Regions from separate parts of the Homo sapiens genome. Here region 2 is linked to region 1. The links are contacts of gene promoters, found by promoter capture Hi-C in human tissues and cell types (Jung and others, 2019). All regions are on one chromosome and are shown on one strand. Each heading gives the region's core, a stretch centred on a gene start or on the middle of the fragment in contact. The rest is flanking DNA. Distances are from core to core; before and after follow the strand shown.

Evidence for each region. Contacts are between HindIII fragments. The study calls those that stand out against the background at their distance.
Region 2: a contact is called between a fragment that was not itself captured here and the fragment with the promoter of BEGAIN in region 1, in 3 of the 25 tissues and cell types used here (mesendoderm cells, small bowel and spleen).

Annotation. Positions count from the first base shown.
Region 1 is chr14:100,585,428-100,588,955 of GRCh38, forward strand. BEGAIN (brain enriched guanylate kinase associated) reads right to left here and starts at 1,990. Exons shown (of 7, transcript NM_001385089.1): 1 at 1,822-1,990. The coding sequence starts at 1,863. The HindIII fragment of the contact is 7,942 bases long and covers 1-3,528 here.
Region 2 is chr14:100,653,482-100,657,009 of GRCh38, forward strand. No RefSeq gene overlaps it. Among named protein-coding and RNA genes, the nearest start is that of LINC00523, 2.0 kb to the right of the region's middle. The HindIII fragment of the contact is 5,505 bases long and covers 1-3,528 here.

The DNA of each region.
Region 1 (3,528 bases), core at 740-3,239:
CCATCCATCCATCCATCCATCCATCCATCCATTCATCCATCCATCCACTCTTCAGCATCAGGAGTGCCTGCAGGAGTAGGGAAGCTCCTTCAAAGTGTTGCCGTGGAGATGATGCGTGGAAATGCTGATCCAGGGCCCAGTACATAGCAGGCGTTCCATAAATGGCAGCTATGTGGGCCAGACCCTGCGCCCAAGTCTTGGGAGAGTGGATGGAAGATCTTCCAGATTGCTTAGGGCTCATTTCCTCTCTCCAGGCCTGGGCTCTGACAGGTGTCCCCCTACTCCACCCCAGCGCATGGAAAACTCATCCTCCAGGCTGAGGTTCTAGGCAGCCCTCCCCTCCCCACTCAGCTCCCAGGTGCGAACAGCTCCAGGTTTTGACGACAAACGGAACGCGGAGCCTTGGAATCTATAAATATGAGACAAAAGCTGGGGAGGGCCCTTGGCGGCAGCGCAGCCGCCCATCGCCCAGAGCCCGTGTGCTGAGCCCGGGCAGAGCCGCATCTGCCACAGTGCTTGCTTTTCCAAGCTGCCCTGATTATAGTGAGAGTCGGGAAAATTAAGGGTTTGCAGGATGCTGCTGGGGCCCTCTCTGCCGTCTCCCCGCCCTGCGTGTCACAGATGCCAGGCAGAGCCACCCCCAACGGCCAGTTGCCCCTGCTGGCAAGACCAAGGCCAGCCTGGCAGGGCTGCACACCGCAGTTTGTTAGGGGCTTCTGCCCACAGTCCTCGTGGGAGCCTGGCCCTGGGAGTAGTGGGGGTCTCTGCTGCTCTTGGCAGGCAGAGGAACTAGGGTCCAGAGAAGGAAAAGAACCTGTCCATGGCCTCCAGAGAGCCAGAGCACTGGGGCCTCCGACGGAGCCTGGCTGTGGAGACCCCGCCCCACCCATACCCCCAGGGCCTGGACCCCCAGTCTGCACTGGCGGCCGACCTTGGCCATGCGGACTTTGCACGTGCAGTGCTCCCTATCCATCCGGCCCCGCTCCCGGGTGCCCACTCTGCTCCCATTCTGCCGGCTCAGGAGACTCCAGCGCGTCGCCCACGCTGTTCCTGCCCTGAGGAAACCACATTGGGGATGGGGTGGGGCACAGACGAGGAAGGAAACACCTCTAAACCAAGCAGGAAGCGGAAACGCTGGGGCAGAAATTCCCATCCAACGTGCTGGGGCTCAGGGAGGGTGAGCGCGCCGGCTGAGCCGCTCTGGGCGAGGCCCTGGCCTCCCTGAGCCTCAGTTTCCTCGCCTGTAAAGGGGCAGGAGGATAGTACCTGCCGCGAGGTACTGAATGGGATGGTGGTGTCCGAGGTTCGTGCGCGCCCACGCGCTGCAAACGCTCAATGAGGCGGCCCCGGGTCCAGCCTCCTTCCGGCTCCCGGGCCTTTCTCCGGCCTCCCAAGCAGGGGCTGGCCCTGCCCCCAGACGCAGGCGGGTCCAGGCCTGCCCGCACCCTCGCCACCCGCCCGGGACAGCGGCGGGTCCCCAGTCCTCCGGCCGCGCCCTTGGTCACCCGTCCCTCCTTTCCTTCCGCCGCAGGGGCGCGCGTGTCAGGGCGCAAGGACCCCGCGATAGGACCCGGGCGCTCCCGGCGGCGCGCGGAGGCTGGGCATCCCCGCCCCACCCGAGAGTGCCCAGTTCCCAGGAGACCCGGCCCGGCTCCTCCCGGGCCAGTGAAGCCTCCACGGCGGGGGCGCAGCGCGGAGGGGAGCGGGGCGGGGGGCCGGCCACCTCCCGCGCTGAGCAGGGACCGCCCCAGGCGTGGGTGGCGCCCGCCCCGCCTCCGCGCCCGCGCCCGCGCCCTGCCCTCCCGGCTCGCAGGTACTCACCGCCCGGCGCAGCCGGCCCGGCCGGCGACCGCCAGTCCACATGGCCCCAGGGCAGCCGCGCCGCTCACCGCCGCCGCCGCTACCGCCGCCCCCTCCCCTCCGAGGCCGAGCGCGCCGGGAGCCGGCGCGGCCGGGGCTCCCCCACCCCGCCCGGCTTCCCGCAGGGAGCGCCCGCCCCCCGCCCCCAGCCCGGCTCCCCGCCAGCCCCGGCCCCGCGCAGCCGCGGCTGAGCCCGCGCGTCCTCCCGGCAGCGCCCGGCCGGGGCGCAAGTGGTGGGCGCAGGGCCGGGCAGGGGCGCGGGGGTGCGGCGTGCGCGGGGGCCAGGCGAGGAATGGCAGAGGGGCAGGGAATGAATGAACCCGCGCCAGCTTGAATGGCTGAGCGCGTGAATGAATGAGTGCGGTAGAGCATGCGGGGCTGGGGGGGCGGGGGGAATGAATAAATGAGAGAACTAATGCACGGGCGCGAAGGTGAGTGACAGAGTGAATGGGCCCTTGAAACCCAGAGGCTGTCAGTAATGACCTGCCCAACCTTTTCATCGGTCCATCCATTCAATCCCTCAACATTTATTAGACACCTAGTGTGTACCAACCAGCCCTGCTGTAGGCCCCAGGGGGTACAGTAGCGAGTGAAACCAAGCTCCTGCCCTCGCAGAGTCACATTTTACAGATGAGGAAACCCTGGCTCCCAAGGGTGCCTCCTGGCCAAGCTGCCCCTTACCCTGCCCTTGCTCTGCCCGAGCCCCCAGTCGGTGGCTTCCAGGGCTTGCCTTCTCCCCAAGGAGCTCTCAGGAAGGGAAGGTGGCTTCAGGAGGACCAGTGTTGCCCCCTGCCTATCCCTCCAGTCTGAAGCATCCCACCGACCTGCCCGGTAGAGCCCAGGCTGGCCAGTCCTACCCTGGTAAAGGTGCAGCGTGAACCCTCCTCTCTCCTCCCAGAGCGGGCAAGGGGCAGCCCTGAGGGTGCCAGCTACATGAGGGTCTTCCATCCCAGCCAGCCCAGCAGCAGCCAGCGTGGGAACCCGGGGAGGAGCACTGGCAGCCAGGGAGGGTCCTGCGTGGTGGAAACAGAGCTGGCAAAGCCCGTGTGCTTCGCTCATATCCTCCCTCGGGACCTATGGGCTCATGGTTCACACATGCTTATATCATTTCCAAGTACATGGCAGATTAGAAGATGCTGCGAATGAGTACCTTGTATATTTTTGTTTTTTAATTGTGGAAAACATGGAAAACATAAAATTTACCATTTTAACCACTTTTAAAGTGTACAGTTTGGGGACACTGAGTTCCCACTGTTGAGCTGCCATCACCACCATCCTTATATGCTGTATGTTGTATGCTTTGCAGTTTCTACGCTCTCTCATTTAATCTGGGGAGTAGGTTGCTACATTCAGGCAGTGTCAGTGCTGAGAAAAGGCACTGATAGCAAGGCAAGAGGGGAAACCCAGAAAAAAAGGAGACAAGCAAAAGAACCAGCAGCTGACTGGAGCCACTTCGTGTCAAGCAAAGTCCTGTCTCTGCTCCCTCTCAGGTCCCAGGGACATGATTGGGTAACCAATGGACAGAGGGAGGCGCCTCCAAGTGCACCCCACCACAGTCAAGACAAAATGAGAGGCGGCAGCTCAGGGCGGGGCTCTCCCAGTTTGGGCGAAGCGTGGACAGACTTCGCCCAAACCGTCGCTGGTGTGCACCACGGGACCAGCCTCTTT
Region 2 (3,528 bases), core at 315-2,814, 68 kb after region 1:
TGGGCTACAAATTTGGCGCTCTGGCTGCTGGGAGACACTGCCTCCTGGTGGCCGCCCTGGCCACAAACAGCTGGGGATGGAGTTCTCGGGTGGCTTCGAGCAAATTTCCCCGGGGGCGGCCACATCCCACGCAGCACACACACCAGCGAGCCTCTTCTCACCCTGGCTCCCCGCTCCTCTAGGAGCAACTTGGGGAATTCCTACACATTTAATCCCTACTGTGCGCTAAGTAGCGAAGATGGTCGTTCCATGTCACCCTCCCTGCAACCTTGCAAGGTGGGTGCTATCACCCCCAACTAAGCAGGGTGGAGGCGACAGCGGAGAAAACGAGGCTCAGAGAGGCAGAGACTTGTCCAAGGCCACATAGTTGGAAGGCACCAATGTGGGGGCTTGAATCAAAACCAGAGGAAAGATATGCCCAACATTCCTGTCCCTTGGCTCTGGGAGCCCCCGTGGAGGCAGAGATGAGTGCAGGAGTGGGTGCAGAGGTTGGCTCCTCAAAAGAATGCCAGTCCAGGCTGGGTAAACGATGGGTGCTCTGAGCGGTGGGGGGTTTCCCTCCTGCTGTGGGGCTTCCTGAAGGAATCGTGGTGGGAAGCAGGGGTTCCCCTTCAAGGGGGCAGGGGAGACACTCTGGAGTGACATTTGCCACCCACCACTCTGTAATGATCAGAGTGGGAGTAAATGGAGCTGGGCCTCAGAGTAATTGGCCGGGGAACCCTGAGTCTCGGCTCGGCCCAGGGTCACAAAGGTCCCCGAGTTAATGAAGCAAACTCTCCCCAGTGTCAGAGGCCGCCTTCAGCACCCCTACAGAGGACGAAACTTTCAGCAGCAGCTTTTCAAGGTTCCAAAAAGAAAGTTGGTGGAGGGGGGCAGAAAGGGAAGGCGTTGTTTTCATGCCTCTTGCTTCATTTGCATAAGGTGAAAAAATGTTTCCATAGAAACAACTAGAGTCTGTAATTTTTGAATAACGATTTCTGCACACAGCACAACCTGTCTTTTCCAAAGGGGAATTAAGAAATTCTCAACAGCATTTCTTACCATAACAAAAGGCAAAGTTTCCCAATTCTAGGATTGCTGCTCCAGAAGGGAGGGCCTTGGCTCCAGCCCCTGCCCTCTCTCGGCCTCAGTTTACTCCTTCTGTGAAATGGGGCGAATGAGGGTGGAATTAGACTCAGCAGGGATGAAGCCGCCTGCACCGTGGAAGGGGAGGGCGGGCGCTGGAGTGAGATGGGATTCCTGTGTCGGGGCTGGGAGGCAGCAGGGCCGGGCAGCGTTGTGAGGAGCTTTCCAGAAGAGGCGGGGGCAGGGGCTGAGGACCCGAGGACCACCCAGGCCACACGGAGAGGCCCCCGCCCGACCCTGCCCCCCGGGGTCTCCTCTGCGGCGAAGAGCGTGGGTGCAGGACCCCGGCGCGCAGCGCAGCGCAGCGGACCCGGCTCACCTGAGCGAAGGTTGCGGCCTCGCTGGCCGCCTCTGCCCCCTTGTGGCCCGAGGCCACCGCAGCACCCACTTGCCCGGGGCACTGACCTGCGTGGCTGGCTCCGCCAGGGCCTGACCTCCCTCCTGGTGCCTTTGCAGAGGGGGAGCAGCCACAGGGCCTGGGGGTGGGGTTGGGCTGGGAGAGGGACCCCAGGATCCTCTGGCCACCTGCCCTCCTCCCAGGCGTTGGCACACGTGGTTCCACGGAGGGGCTCCCTGGGGCATCTCGGGAAGTGCAGATTCCCGGGCCTGCCTCTGCAGGTCTGACTCAGGAGGCCAAGAGGTGACGGCTAAAGTGGAGAGGACCACAGCGAGGCCTGCAGAGGGTAACGTGGGGGACTTGTCTGCTCCCCCATATTACAGATGAGAAAACTGAGGCCCTGCGTGGGGGGCCCCCCCTGTCCGTGGCTTCCCACCAAGGAGGCCCTGCATGTTCTGTCCATCCTCTGACTGCTCAGCGACCAAGGCAGCTGGGTGGTGGTCCGGGTCTGTGGAGGACGGTAACCGGGGGCTGTTGTCCTTGGAGTCCCGGTCTGCCTGTATTTATCCTCCTCATTTAACTGAGGGCTGATTATTGTGCTGGGACTGGAGCTGGGCAGGCAGCAGTGCCTGGTGTCTCTGGCTTAATTACAGCTGGAGGAGACGGGAGCAATGAGGCGTGAGCTGCTGGTGACTCCAACACAGGAAACGCTCCTGCAGACGTCCTTCCCTCCTCATTTTTAAGAAATACATGTACAAAGCCTCCCCGATTGAAAAATAATGACCCCACTGGATGGTGACTTTTTGGGGGGCAGCAGGGTCTGCCCTCAGCCTAGCTTCTGGAGCCCCTCCTCACTCTGGTGCTCTCCCCTTTAGCCTCCATCTCCTGACCTCCTCCCTCAGCAGGCTTCCGACTGTCCCCTGGGCTCCAGATGGCAGGGATGGGTTTGGAGAGGTGGCACTGTGAGGTGTGGGGAGGCCTGGCTCCTGCTGGTGGTCCTGAACAGAGGCTGCCATTAGGGTTACAGGTGAGACAGATGGGCACAGATGGGCAGAGCCGATGGCTCTGGAAGTTCAGGGGGTGGCCCAGGGTGGCCCATCTTGCTGGGGCTGCAGTTTCCCTGGGCAGCTGGATGTTGGCTGGCAGCACTGGGCAAAGAGGAGACAGAAGCACAGAAACGGAATCAGGCAGCCCAGCCCAGCCCTCTGTGTCCTGCTGCAGGATAGCCTCCAGTCAGGTAAAACAGGTGGTGGCTTCAGGACTTGCACAGACAGAGCATGTGCTATGTCACTGGGAAGGAGCTCACCGGGAGACAGATGGGGCCTTGGGAAAGCGGGTTCCTGCTGTGGAGCCTCAGTTTCCTCATCTGTGACACGGGGCTTTGGTGAGGGTTGCTGTGAGAATGAAGAGTGAGTGATTTGTGAACAGCCAGCTCACGGCTGAGAGGTGGAGAAAGAAGATGGGGCTGTTCTCTTCCCCAGCTGGAGTCTTGGAGGACAGCAGCTGCCCAGAGGAAATGGAAAGTTAGGTCCGAAGGCTGCTTTGAAATGGTTGGAGGCTGGTTACCCTGAACCCAGCTCTGGTTTGGCTGCTATCAGCTGGCTCACTGGTGAAAACCTCAGAGCTTTTTTTTTTTTTTTTGGTGGGAATTAGAGCCCATGATGGGTGCATGTATTTGGAAACCATAACACTCCATTGGCACATGCGAGAGTGGTTTGCGATGGAACTCAGTCCTCACAACACTGAGGAAACACAGTTGGGAGACTGAGGCACACAGAGAAGGTGGCTCACCCAGGGCCACACGGCAGGGAGATGTGGCAGCTCTGATGGGGACGTCCAGCCTGGTGGCATCTCAGCATACACAGTTAGGGGGTTCCTCTTAGAGAGAAGGAATACAAAATCCTGCGGCGGTGGATATTCAGACATGTGTGGAGTCCCAGCAAGTGGTCCATTCTATATTAGGCAAATATTAGAGACGGCAACGCAGCCAGGCCCTCCCTGCCAGGAAGTGTGGAAACCCTGAGGAATCAGCACCCGCTGTCACTCGAACCCAGGCCTGGACTCCT